Linked DNA regions of Homo sapiens: all the other regions are linked to region 2. The links are contacts of gene promoters, found by promoter capture Hi-C in human tissues and cell types (Jung and others, 2019). All regions are on one chromosome and are shown on one strand. Each heading gives the region's core, a stretch centred on a gene start or on the middle of the fragment in contact. The rest is flanking DNA. Distances are from core to core; before and after follow the strand shown. Region 1 overlaps SHISA6 (shisa family member 6). Region 2 holds the start of SHISA6 (shisa family member 6). Region 3 overlaps SHISA6 (shisa family member 6).

Region 1 (4,384 bases), core at 199-2,698, 42 kb after region 2:
AAAGTACTTGAAAACATCACTGATCCTAGAACATTCTCAAAATATAACTCACACAAAGCAAGAGTGACTTCAGCTGGCTATCTTGCGTTGATGTGACATTTAAGTAAGCAATGGTCAAATGCATAAAAGTTTTTTTTTCTCTTTTAAGAGCAATTTCAATCTTTGCTTGGTCTCTTGGAAGAAAATCCAAAGGGATCTATGATACATTTGTGGCATAGGCCAAATTATCTTTACAAAACCTTTCCTCATCTTCCTCACTCTCAATGCCTTTCATAGCCACAGAAGCTGCTTCCCCAAATACTCCTTTTTCAAAAGAGGTCCCCAAACTTAACCTAAGTGCGTCTGCAGGTGTTACCACCTCTCTTTACTATGTAAATCAGCAGACACTCTTGCTCTGCATAGTTCTCTTATTCACTTGTTGCCCAGATTTTTAACATCAGAGTAGAGTTCTAGAGGCGATTCAACAAGATCGAAAGTTCTTTCTCCATAGAAGGTAGGGAAGGGGCAAGAGAGCAAAGGATTTGGACTAGATACGTGGTATTTCTTCTTTTTTTTTTTTAATACTTTAAGTTCTGGGGTACCTGTGCACAACATGCAGGTTTGATATATAGGTATACATGTGCCATGTTGGTTTGCTGCACCCATCAACTCATCATTTACATTAGGTATTTCTCCTAATGCTATCCCTCCCCCAGTCCCCCACCTGCCGACAGGCCCCAGTGTGTGGTGTTCCCAGCCCTGTGTTCAAGTGTTCTCATTGTTCAATTCCCACCTATGAGTGAGAACATGCGGTATTTGGTTTTCTGTCCTTGTGATAGTTTGCTGAGAATGCTGGTTTCCAGCTTCATCCAGATACATGGTATTCCATCTGCTATCACACTGCATATTCACCATTGTAACCCGGAGAGACAAATGAATAAGCATCTGTCCAGCCCCAACCCAGAGGGGCAGCTGCCAAGCAGCAAGTGGGAGGAGGAGCCCTCACTTAGACTTGAGCCTGCAAACTGGGATTTAGATGGAATCATTCACTCCAATTTTCCCCAAAACCACATTCCACATTCAGGTTTATAGAGTGGAGAGCTCAAAATAGGTTTACATTAAAAAACAGTCCTGCTGTTTGTATATGATTTGCTCCAGGATAGTTTCATTGATCTAGCGAAGTGTAAAGATCATTGAATTTGGAGCACCAGACCTAGATATTGTCCCAACCCAATCTTCAAGTTTTTCATTTGATAAGTGAAGTCATAATCTCTTAACTTCGCAGGATTCAACTCTATTAAGTGTGCCCACATGAATATTAACTGATACTTACTGCTCTTTTAGACAAAATATGCAATAAATTGCATTTATATAGCACTCTTTGAAAGCAACTATATATGTACATAGTTTGTAAATGTATATATGTATCAGTTAATCATCATATGAATCTATTGAAGAAGAAGTAATTGTTTCCATTTAATAGGTGATTCTGTAAGGAGATTCAGGAGGTTTAAGCAATTTGTCTACCATTGCACACCAGTGGATATTAAAACCAAAACTTCAACTCAAGTTTTCTGATTCAAGGTCTGATTTTCTTTCTATTTCTCCATCCTGCCTCTATTAAAGCACAGCCACTTGTCTACTACAGAATTAAAATTAAGTGGGTCTAAAGCCTCATGTTGAATAAATGCATGCACGTGCTAATTTTTCTGTTCTTTTGAATCTGAATTAAGGAAAATAAGCCAATTACATTAAAGTGGTGTCAGCAGATACTGCACAAAGCTTATATATAACCCTAGCACCATGCCATATGAACTCAGTAAATATTTTCTAATGCATAGATGTCATGTAACGTTGCAGATGCCAGCCACCTTTATTGTTGGAACAGGGAAGAAGCATATAATGAAAGTAAGGTGCAGTTTTGGATTTCAAGAGCAGAAAACTTTAGTGACTAATGGGAAAATTCCAGTTCTGTTCTGTGCTGTGGAGAAACTTATCTCTTATATTGCTTCTATTGCTATTAAGGAGGCATATTGGAAAATAATCTATAGAATTGTTTAGCTGAAGCTTTTTGTGTGCTTTGCGCTTCAGACTTGATAGTTTTTTTGGTAGGTTGTTGTTCCCCAGTTCCTTTTTAGTTCTCCTAAGTTTTCCTTGTTTGGAAATTCTTACACTTCACAGGAAAGCCTCCATTAGAAAACTGACTCTAATACTACTACCTCAAAACCACACACACAGACATACACACATTTACATGCACTTGTACAAACACGTAGGCATGCACAATCCTCCCCCTACCTCATCTAGTAAAAAGTAAGGAAATGATTCATATCATTTGGGATTATGTTCAACTTCAAGTAACAGAAAACTGAAGACTTTATTTGGCTTAACCAAATAAAGGTTGATTTTCTCACCTAGTCAAAAGTCCCAAAGTAGGCAATTTCTGGAGTTGGTTTAGTTGCTCAGCAACACCTTCAGAGAACCAGATGTTTTCCATCTTCTCTTCCATCATCCTTACAGGGTTGGCTTCCATCTTTATGCTTGTTACCTCATGATTGCAACATGGCTGCCCGAGCTCCAGGCTTTTTATCTACATTCCAGGCAACAGGAATGGAGAAGGGCAGTGTCAGTGACCCTCATTTAGCTGCACATATATTGCTGCCCCAAATAATGTGGAATTTATTGGCAGGGAAGGAGGGAGACAAATTGACTACTAGGTAGGTAATTCACAGTGTCTGCCCCATGTTTTTAGTGCATTTTCTTCTCTCTCTGTATGGGTTCAAATAGGAGTTCCTCATTGAGGAATGGCTTCTGGTTATGTGCTCATTTGAACAAAGTTCTCTATAATAAAATAATTCAGATGTCCCTTGGAATTCATCCTGTTTTTTAATGATTCTATTGATGCTGTATTAGACTTCTATAGCACTTTATATTTTCACTGGCATGAATCCTACTTAAACTTTGCAGCAGTCATGAGATACAGTTCTTATGGCTGGGACCAAAGCAATTTAGTGATATGTTCAACCCAGATCCTCCTTGTCCAGGGCTCCATTCCTCTGTCCACCTCTACTTCTTCTAACCACAGTTGATCTGTTTCCCCAGGATGACTCAATTCTTTGGTTTCTTAACTGAGCCCTCTCCAGCTGGCCCTGTGGCCTGCTACTCAGCTCAGGATGCTAAACACGGGCCATCTTGCTAACACATGTGTCTTTTGGCTGATATGAAATCATCAAAGGCAAAACCCTGGAAAATATTCACTGACTCCAAGGTTTAATTGATATATGTGCTTCTATACACACATGCACCCCAGAAGTAAGTCTTCCTGGATGAGGCTCTGCAGTTAGGGTGTCTGCTTATTCCAGTTTGATCTGAGGAACTTCAAATGAGTTGTTAGAAGTCTGAGTTGGGATTAGGTTTGCACATCCCATTTGGTGTGTCAGACAGACAGGGATGGATTCCTCATTCTGAGACTTGGAGGTGTTGCATGATTTTTGCAGGAGTTGCTGCCGTTTGCTTTCTTCCCTTCAGCTTGTTGCAAATGATACATCTGGGGGACATATCCCACCACCCCTCAATCCTTGAGAGGAGCAAATCTTGCCTTGCAGTTGGGAAAAGTTTTGTCTTAAAAAGGGGAGAAGGGGTGTCATTTTATTGTTTGAAATAATGATTTTGACACCTTTTAAAAAATGAATCCTACTGACAGTTTGGAGGCCTTTGTGGAATTAATCAAGTTTGATCCAATATGCATTTAATGAGAGCTTACTTTGAGCGAGGGACTGATGGGACAGGAATCAATTTCCCTTTTTGCCCCTGGGCTTGTACAGACTATGCGCCCATGCTGCAGAGGTCTGTGTTTACTATGAAAACCTGTGGTCAAGACACAGATTAGCGTAGCTGGGAAAGGGCTCTTGTGCACTTTGTAGAAGCTTGTGGCTGCAGTGACAGTGGTTGGAATGAGAGGCAGGGTGGTGCTGGTGGTGTGGCTCTGTGTCTCTCTCTCTCTCTTTTTTTTTTTTTTTTTGAGATGGAGTCTCACTCTGTAGCCCAGGCAGGAGTGCAATGGCGCGATCTTGGCTCACTGCAACGTCAGTCTCGTGGGTTCAAGCGATTTTCCTGCCTCAGCCTCCTGAATAGCTGGGATTACAGGCACGTGCCACCACGCCTGGCTAATATTTTGTATTTTTAGTAGAGACAAGGTTTTACTGTGTTAGCCAGGATGGTCTCGAACTCCTGAACTCGTAGGTGAGACCCCCGTGTAGGAAATGCATCCAAGACCATGAACTATACCACTGGCCACCTCAGCAGGAATGAGTGTGCCTGCAACAAGGGGGGCCTTGTTTTTCAGAGTGGCCTCACCCCTGCCCATCTAACATCTACCCCACAGACCAGACCATATGAGGGACTA
Region 2 (4,764 bases), core at 352-2,851:
CAGAATCTTGGCCTTGGCCATCGCTTTTTGTTCTCAGTTCCCCCTACCTCCTCCAAGGACACACGCCAAGGATGGTACTATGATTCTCTTTTGGGATGGCCTCGTAGCTGTGAAAGTTAGACTCAGGCCTCCTTTCCACAGACCCAGACACGCAACTACCCCGGAAAGCACCCCCGCCCTGCACCCCCATCCTCCTCACCTCCCATAGGAGCTGCAGCACAGAGATTTCAACACAGGGGTTACAAAGCTGAGTCTCAGAGGTTCAGATAGCTTTCTAATGGCCTCGAGGCTCCGCGGGGAAAAAAAAAAGTATAGCAAAGAGTTGCCATCCAGTCCTGGGGCTGTCTAGCGCCTTTATGCGTAGTGGGTACGGGGTTGGGGAAAGAGTGACCAAGGGGAAGAGAGTGTAGGCTCAGCTCACGGGTCGCCCAACAGCCTCAGACAAGCCACTTGACCCCTGGACTCAGTTTGGGAACCTGTAGCAATGGGTTTGACCTCTTCTCCTGGCTGCGAGTATCACCACTAGGGAGAGGCAAAGGCTTGCAGAAACCCCAACTCCCGCTCAGGCAGCGCGCTGCCCCGGGCTCCGGTAGGGTGGGGACTGGTCGCGAAGGCTAGAGAAGGCAATGGCAGGGGAGGTCAGTCCCTGCCGCGGGCCGGCTGCAGAGCGGACGTTCCGCCCTGCTCCCGGCCCCCTCTTCGCCCGCCGGGTTCGCCGTGTCGAATAACTGCTGTCCGGAGCTTTCGTGACGCGGAGCTTCAACTGCTGCGATCCGGAAGAAGCGAAAAGGAGTCCCCCCCGCCCCGCACCCTGAGCGCCCGGGCGTGCAAACGTGGGTGGCGGAGAGCGGCTGCCCTCCCCTCCCCTGTCCCCCCTCCCCTCGCGGCGCTCCCGTGTGTGCGGGTGTGTGAGTGCGTGTGTCTCCCTCGCTCACTCTCGCACACGTTCCGGCACTAGTGCAGGCGGCGAGCCGGCGGCTCTCCGCTCGCTCGCTCCGGCAGCTGCGTTCCCGCCTCGCCCCGCCGCCGCCGCCGCCGCCGCCGCCGCCGCCTCTGCAGTCGCAGCCGGGCATGGTGAGTGAGTGAGGTCCAGCCGCCGCGCGCTCTCCCGGCTCGCCGCCGGACCCCAGCCTCAACCGGCTCCGTCCCAGGGAGCCAGCCTGCGGCGGGAGCGCGCTGCGGGGCCGGGCGGCTGGGGGACCCGGGCGGCCGAGCTGCGCCTGGAGGGGCGGCCCGTGCGCTCTCGGTTCCAGGCGCGCAGGGCCGCGGGACCCCGTCTTGGGAGCGGGCTCTACGCCCCTCCCGGCTCCGAGTCTCTCTCCTCGAGGGCTGCGCGCACCCTCCCCGCCCGCCTGCCCGCGGTTCTCCTCCTGCTCCCGGAGCGCCAGTCGCCCCACCCCGTGACCGGCTCCCCGTCTTGTCCCGCAGGACCCGCCCGGACGGGACCACGCCGCCGCCGCCGCCGCCGCCGCCCGGAGCCGCGCTTCGGGTCCTGCCTGAGCCGAGCCGCGCGCGGGGCCGCAGTCACCGCCGGCGGGGGATGGGGCTGCCCAGGAGGCGCGCCGAGCCCGCAGGGGGAGCGCGGAGCCGGCGCGCAGCCTGAGAGCCCGAGCAGCCCGCGCCGGGCCGGTCCGTGCGCACCGCGCGCCGCCGCCGCCACTGCCGCCCGCGCCTCGATGGCGCCATCGCCCCGGAGCCGCTGACCGCTCAGCGCCTCCAGCCCGGCCCGCGCGGCGGGTCCTCCGAGCCCGGCCCGCCGGGGGAGCGGCCTGCCGCGGAAGCCTCCCCGCGCCCTCCCGCCCGGCCCCGCCATGGCGCTGCGGCGCCTCCTGCTGCTGCTGCTGCTCTCGCTGGAGTCCCTGGACCTGCTGCCCAGCGTCCACGGAGCCCGCGGCCGCGCCGCCAACCGGACCCTGAGTGCAGGCGGCGCTGCCGTCGGGGGCCGGAGGGCCGGGGGCGCCCTGGCACGGGGCGGCCGCGAGCTGAACGGCACCGCCCGGGCGCCCGGAATCCCGGAGGCGGGAAGCCGGCGGGGGCAGCCCGCGGCGGCTGTGGCGGCGGCGGCCAGCGCGGCCGTCACCTACGAGACGTGCTGGGGCTACTACGACGTGAGCGGCCAGTACGACAAGGAGTTCGAGTGTAACAACAGCGAGAGCGGCTACCTGTACTGCTGCGGTACCTGCTACTACCGCTTCTGCTGCAAGAAGCGCCACGAGAAGCTGGACCAGCGCCAGTGCACCAACTACCAGAGCCCGGTGTGGGTACAGACGCCCAGCACCAAGGTGGTGTCGCCGGGGCCCGAGAACAAGTACGACCCGGAGAAGGACAAGACCAACTTCACCGTCTACATCACCTGCGGGGTGATCGCCTTCGTCATCGTGGCCGGCGTCTTCGCCAAGGTCTCCTACGACAAGGCCCACCGCCCTCCACGGGAGATGAACATCCACAGGTGAGAGCGCCGCGTGCCGCGCGCCCCGGTCTCCCCGCGGCCTCACCCTCTCAGCTTGCTTCCCCTGTCCTCTTCACTCTCGGCATCATCACACCTCCCCAGGCCCTCTAGTCATTTCCACCATCGCTCCTTTTGCATGCAATAAATCAGGGTCTTCTTGTGCCCCCTCCTCCATTTCTTCAGAACCGGGAATGCATGCTTTGGTGGTAGGGGGATTTACAAGGCAGAGTAAGAATTGGTTGAGTGCATGAAGTTCCAAGTGTAAGAATGTTACAAATTCTGTAATCGTGGATGAGGATCCAGGGTTCTGCTTTCCTGGCATGAGGGCACTTTGGTGTAGGTTCTTAATGGCATTTAGTTTTTTGAGTCAAATCAGAGTGTCATCTTCAATATAGGAAACTGACCAATGTTGGAACCTTACTGAAAGCGGTACCAAGTGGCTTAGGGTCAACTGAGATGTTCTCGTACATTAGGAATTGGGGTTTTATAGAAAGGATGCCTCCTGCCGGAAGTAGGGATAAAGATTTCTCCATTCCATGTTGACCAAGCACAGATGGTGTCTCCTCATTGCATCCTGCGGAGTGGGATGTTTATCTTTCCTGCTGAGACTAGAGGACTCGTTCTTTGAAACCCTGTAGGCAGAACTCTGAGTTAACAGTACTCGCCTGTGTTAAACCTGGTGGGGCATCTTTCACTGCTTACGTTCGAAAGACAGTGGGAGCTGCCTCCTACCAAAACTTACGCCAAGAGCTCAAACTATGGCAGTCCCTGGTTGCACGCTGAATGCTGCCCCGACGCACCATCTTGCCCCCCAGTGAGCCCTTGGGGAAGTCAAAGCCAAGGGGATGACAGAAACCCAGCCTCCCCTTAGAACTCTAGGAATGACACACCCAGAGGATGCAGAGTTAGCTCGGCTTCCTGTCCCCTCATGTTGATGGATGGCTGGACATGGTGCAAGAGTCCTCTCAGGGAACAAACCCTGCCCCGGGAGATGCCTCCATTTCTGTTGCATGGTGTGGGCACTGCCCTAGTCACCATGAGCACCCCCCAGACCACTGCTTGTCAGTCAGTCCTGCAGGCCCCCACACTGACCCATTCACCTTGAGCTCTTCTCTGCGTCCTGCTTGTTATTCTTACCACCTGAAAACCGCCTTCCTCGCTGCTGTGCACATTAATCACCCCTGCCTTGCTGAAGAGAGAGAAAGGCAGATAGAAATTTCTAGGCATGTTAAAAGAGCTGATTTTTTTTTTCTGCTTGATACTGTGGGTGTTGAGAGAAATGATACTCCCTGGAAGGTTTTATTGAGTCAAATCCACAAAGGGTGGGTACCTCAAACTCGCGTGCTGGAATTGGAGTGATTCCAAAAGGAGACCCTTTTATAAGGCTCTGTCACCCTGAGGTGCCTCCACCCTGTCTTCCACTTGCACCTCATGTCTCAGATAGTGCAGTAAGTATCCTCTTGTGTGAGAAACAGCCTGTGGTCAGTCTTGGCTCTCAAATGCAGAAGACAAGTGGGACGGTGAGCAAAATAAAGGCAAGAGACAGTTTCTTTTGCATCTTGTCTGGCAAAGAATTTTCTGTCTCGGCTCAGTGTGGAAAGAAAAGAAGGAATTGCCCGTGGGCAGGTGCTGTCCTGAAGCAGATGTGCTGGTCCTTATCATCCTTACACCTCTGCCTCAAGACTTGGAGGCTTGTCTCCTCTTCCCCTTCCCCTGTGGCCTTGGCCTCTCATTAAACCTTCTGCTCTGACCACAGCCGCTTGCTCGTTGATTCCTACACATCTTTCTTTAAGTTACTTTCTTTCTGAGCCATTGTTCTCTGTACTCAGGGAAAACTGCCTGCTGCCCTGACCCTTCCACCTCACACAGTTTATTCGTCATCGCCTGGGATGATACAGAGGGCGGTGTCCTCAAATGCTGGCAGCAGGCATCTTTGGATGCTGGCATTGGCACGTGACCCTGGAGAGGTCACTGTCCCTCTTGGTGTTTTCTCCCCTTCCCACCACCCTGATGCCCCTTACGCCAAACTAGGGTGAAGGTGATTACGGCATTGGGGCAGCTTCTCTCTGGGGTTGGGGAAGCAGAGTAACCACGGGAAGGGAGATGAATTTCAGGCCTCAGAGCTTTATGCAAATATGGGATGTTTCCCCCTCAAGTTCACCACCTGATTTTATTCAGTTCACAGCCTCTCTTCCAGCAGCTGCAGTCTTGCCTGATCAGTGCTTTGGAAACCATCATATCCGTGCCTGTTGGGTAGGGGACAATGCCTGTCTGTGTGTGGTAGGGGGACAGGGCATGGGGGATCCATCTACGAC
Region 3 (4,487 bases), core at 1,045-3,544, 60 kb after region 2:
CTAACAAATGACTCCCAGTGGCCAAACCATGTTCCAAGTTCACTGTCAGCAGCTAGCTCAAGGAGGCAGACCTCATCGCTGGGTTAAAGGGAGAGTGAGGAGCCTAGCTTTTGCAGCTACTCAAGGTGGCTCTCTGAGGGTGGACTGATGTTAGAGGTAGATTTGTTCAGGGATGGTAGAAAATCAGAGTCAGCTGCTGAATGTGCTTTGGGTCTAGTCTATTAGGTTGATGCAAAAGTAACTGCAGTTTTTGCCACTAAAAGTCATGGCGAAAATACATCCCCTTTCCTTCCATGACCAAGAATGGTTGAATCTTCTGTAGCTCCCATGTCCCTTTCACAAATAAAAGAGCTACTCTTCAGTAATAAAGCATTAGGATGGACCACATTTCTTCATTGTGTCATTGTGACCTCTAGTACATTCTATTCTCTGTCTGGATTTTAATGTTCTCCCCCATAAAATAAAGCAGTTGGATCGGAATAATCATAGCTAATATTTATTGAGAATTACTGGGTGCCAGATGCTATTCTAAGTGATTTACATACATTATATTACATTTAATTGTCCTGAAAGCTCCATCAGAGGTAGATATTACTATTTCTGGTGTTTTTTTTTTCAATGCAGGAACTGAGACACAGAGAATAAGTAACATGCTGTATTCATTTCCTATTAACTGCTAAAACAAATTACCGCAGATTTAAACAACACAAATTTATTCCCTGTGATTAAAACAACACACATTTATTCTTTTACATTTCTGGGCCAGAAGTCCAAAATAGCTTTCACTGGGCTGAAGTCAAGATATGTTAGGGCTGGTTCCTTCTGGAGGCTCTAGGGGAGAATCGATTTCCTTGCCTGTTCCAGCTTCTAGAGGCCATATGCATTCATTGGCTTACGGTCCTTTCCTGCATCTTCAAAGTGCATCACTCCAATCTCTGTTTTCCCCATCCCATCACCTTCTCTCTCTGACTCTGACCAACCTGTGTCCACTTATAAGGATCCCGTGTGGGCCTACCCACACAATCCAGGGTGGTCTCCTCATCTCAAGAACCTTAACTTGATCCCACTTGCAAGGTTCCTTTTGCCATGAAAAGCAACACCTTCAGGTCAGGTGCGGTGGCTCACGTCTGTAATCTCAGCACTTTGGGAGGCTGAGGTGGGCAGATCACGAGGTAAGGAGATCAAGACCATCCTGGCTAACACAGTGAAACCCTATCTCTACTAAAAATACAAAATATTAGCTGGGCGTGGTGGCATGTGCCTGTAGTCCCAGCTACTTGGGAGGCTGAGGCAGGAGAATCGCTTGAACCTGGGAGGTGGAGGTTGCAGTGAGCTGAGATCACGCCACTGCACTCCAGCTTGTGCGACAGAGCAAGACTCCATCTTAAAACAAAAAAAAAAAAAAAAGAAAAACAAGAAAAAAGAAAAAAAGAAAGGCAACACCTTCACAGGTTTAAGGACTGGGATGTGGATATCTTTGGGAGGCATTTTTCTGTTTACCACAATACCCGAAGCATGAGTTCCCAACCAGTGTAGACCTGGGCCCTGGGCACCACTGTGCCGTACTGACTTAGGATGGGCAAACATGGGGCATGCAAGCCACTGCCCTTCTCTTCGTGTCCATGGAGCACTGGCAACTGACTGCAGCCCTCTTTCCTTCAGAATCCGAGTGCATCTTAGAATCCTTCTCAACACTGTTTTCCAGGCAGCCCTGTCAGTTGACCCGAACTGTCAGGCACGATGAAGCCTGTGGGCCATTTTCAGTTTTGATCTCTAAGTTTTCATCTGGGTGTCACATCCAAGACACCCGTGGCACCAGTGAGCTTTTAGAGAGTGAGTTGTGGCAAGCCTGTGTGCCCTTCTTGGGAGAGAATTCCCTTTTTGCCAGTTTAGGACTTTTTTTTCTTTTTCTTTTTTTTTTTTTTTGTAATTCAGTGACTGTGGGTTTAAATATTACCCCTTCATAAGAGATGGCTCTAGGAAAAACAGGCTTCTTATTTCAATTCCCCGGCATACTGGCCAGGAACCTGGCTCTTTGTGAAATGCTAGTTGATAATTTCAGTTTGGGTGGTAGGGAAGGGAGGTGGAGCACATGGGGGAACACAGCCCCACCCTCCCGCCCCATCTGCTTGTGCTTCAAGAACATACTGTAATTGTTCAGCCCTGTATGGGGTGGGGGGAGAGAAAATCACAACATGTTCACACAGAAGAGAAAACAAACAGCCTTTAATACCAGTCAAGGGAAACACGTTTAAAGAGTTTTTTTGCAAGGCCTGAAGCAAAAGAACTTCTCCAGTACAGCTGCGTGGAGTCCCGTGCTCAGCTTCACTGTGGGCCTTCCACGTCTAGCTGTCAGAGCCTCTCTGCCTGTGCTGAGCCCGGTAGCAGACCCCTTTAATGCAGCTGGAACCCTCACTAGTTTTCTTCCTCCCTAACAGCCTATGATGTAGTGGTGGGTACTGGGGTGGGGAGCATTGGACCCTCAAGTTGAAGTTGCACTGTTTATCTCCTGGGTGCGTTGCAGCCCCCAGGACCATTAATTACACATTCTCCAGGCATCAAATTCCCCAGGTGGGTAAATAATTCCATTGCAATAAGGGGATGGTACATTGACCTTTATTTGTCTTTCTAATTTTCCACTTCTTTGGGGGCTCCGGGCTTTGCTAGGGCCTAATGAGCTCTAGTCCAAATGATTGCAGCACTTTGGGTCAGTATCTTCCTAAATTCACTCCTTTGCAAAGGTGCTGACCAGAGAACTGTGATAAAGGCTTTCCCCACTCTGGTCACACCGTGCATGAATGAGTCTTTCTCTTCCAGGCGTCCTTCAGTCAACCTCCTTGCCGTTCCCCTCCTTCCTGCCTCCTCCAGCCAGAGGCAGCTTCCAGAAAACTTCCCACTCTTACTGCATTTCCTATGAACGTTCCTGCAATCTAGGTGTGTCCTTGTGGATCCCCAAGTCAATGTCATGCCGGTAGAAAGGATGGGAATGCAGGTGTGACTCCTTCAAGGAGAGATTTCTCATAAGGGGAAACTGCCAGCTGTAGGGGTCCTCTCCCTTTGCATGGTTTTGGCTTTAGGAGCCTTGTATTCGTCCGTTTTCATACTGCTGATAAAGACATACCAGAGACTGGGAAGAGAAAGAGGTTCAGTTGGACTTACAGTTCCACATGGCTGGGAAGGCCTCAGAATCATGGTGGGAGGCAAAAGGCACTTCTTACATGGCGGCGGCAAGAGAAAATGAGGAAAAAGCAAAAACGGAAACCCCTGATAAACCCACCAGATCTTGTGAGACTTATTCACTATTATGAGAATAGCACAGGAAAGACCGGCCCCCATGATTCAGTTACCTCCCCTCCGGGCCCCTCCCACAACACATGGGAATTCTTGGAGACACAATTCAAATTGAGATTTGGGTGGGGGCACAGCCAAACCATATCAGGCCTAGAGCTTAACTTTAGGCCTCTGTTGGAGTTTTCTGAAAGAATTCAAATTTTGTCAGGCTCAGTTTCCTGACAGCAAAATTTGAGGAGTTGTAGAGAGTGAAATAGACCACAAAATGTTATGCTGGAAGGAACCTCCTAAGTTTGTCCAGTATAAAGTTCTTATTCTGCACATGAGGAATTTGCTCTTAGGTCCAGCAGCCAGAAAGTGGCTGACCTGTGTCCAGAATCCAGGTCCCAGGACATCCAGATCTTTTCTCAGCTCATTTTTTACGTGGTCACCTATGCATCTGCCTGTATTTTATTGCAATAAGGGGATGGTACATCTGGTACATGAACGTGCCAGAAACAGGCAAGCATTTCCTTGCCAGGCCTAAGCTTTTGAAAAGCAAGAGAGAGAGGGAGAGAAGCAGATGTTGAGGAAATAGCCTGAGTGCATTGGTGGCCTCTGGAACATCTGGACCAGTCCAAGCCGTCTTTTGCTTCCAACATTGGAAGTCCTGCTTAGGTCCTAGCAGGAAGATGATTTGTGATCCAACCATTTCACATATAGGGCCAAGAGGGCAGACCCGAAGGGTTGCAGCTCTCAGCAACAGCCCTACCCAGGGACCGAGGTTGCTATAGAAACAATATGGGGGTGGGGGAAAAAGCAGAGAGTCATCCAGGTGGAGAGGAGGGGGGCGTTTGAAATGAGAGGTTTCTAGATGAAACAGACTTCCTGCAGGTTCTGCTGGAGTTTCATTGAAGGCTGATGGCTTTGTCATTTCCCATCAAGCTGGGCTGTAGCATGGGGTGTGGAGGGCTCCTGGGAAAGAAAGACGTCTGACTGAGTAGTGTGATGACGCCCCCAACCCAGTGCAGTGCAGTGCAGTGAGCAGCCTATGTGCTTGTATGATTGTGTGATACATACACAATTGTGATTACCTGTGTGTGTGTACGTATCAGTGTGTGATTTTGTGTGTGATTACCAGTGTAGTTATGTTTGAGTGTGTGTGCTTGTGTGGTTTTGTGTGTGTGTGTGTGTAAGATTCAGTGTGATTGTGAGTG

Evidence for each region. The method cuts DNA at HindIII sites, captures the fragments that hold promoters and counts their contacts. A contact is called where the count stands out against the background at its distance.
Region 1: a contact is called between a fragment that was not itself captured here and the fragment with the promoter of SHISA6 in region 2, in 5 of the 25 tissues and cell types used here (dorsolateral prefrontal cortex, heart right ventricle, hippocampus and 2 more).
Region 3: a fragment that was not itself captured here is called in contact with the fragment with the promoter of SHISA6 in region 2 in 3 of the 25 tissues and cell types used here (dorsolateral prefrontal cortex, lymphoblastoid cells and thymus).

What each region holds. Positions count from the first base shown.
Region 1 is chr17:11,281,855-11,286,238 of GRCh38, forward strand. All of the region lies in intron 2 of SHISA6 (shisa family member 6), which reads left to right. Among named protein-coding and RNA genes, the nearest start is that of SHISA6, 43 kb to the left of the region's middle. The HindIII fragment of the contact is 3,054 bases long and covers 1-2,975 here.
Region 2 is chr17:11,239,612-11,244,375 of GRCh38, forward strand. It overlaps SHISA6 (shisa family member 6), which reads left to right and starts at 1,602. Exons shown (of 6, transcript NM_207386.4): 1 at 1,602-2,449. The coding sequence starts at 1,812. The HindIII fragment of the contact is 17,378 bases long and covers 1-4,764 here.
Region 3 is chr17:11,298,759-11,303,245 of GRCh38, forward strand. The region is part of intron 2 of SHISA6 (shisa family member 6); the gene reads left to right. Among named protein-coding and RNA genes, the nearest start is that of SHISA6, 60 kb to the left of the region's middle. The HindIII fragment of the contact is 4,566 bases long and covers 12-4,487 here.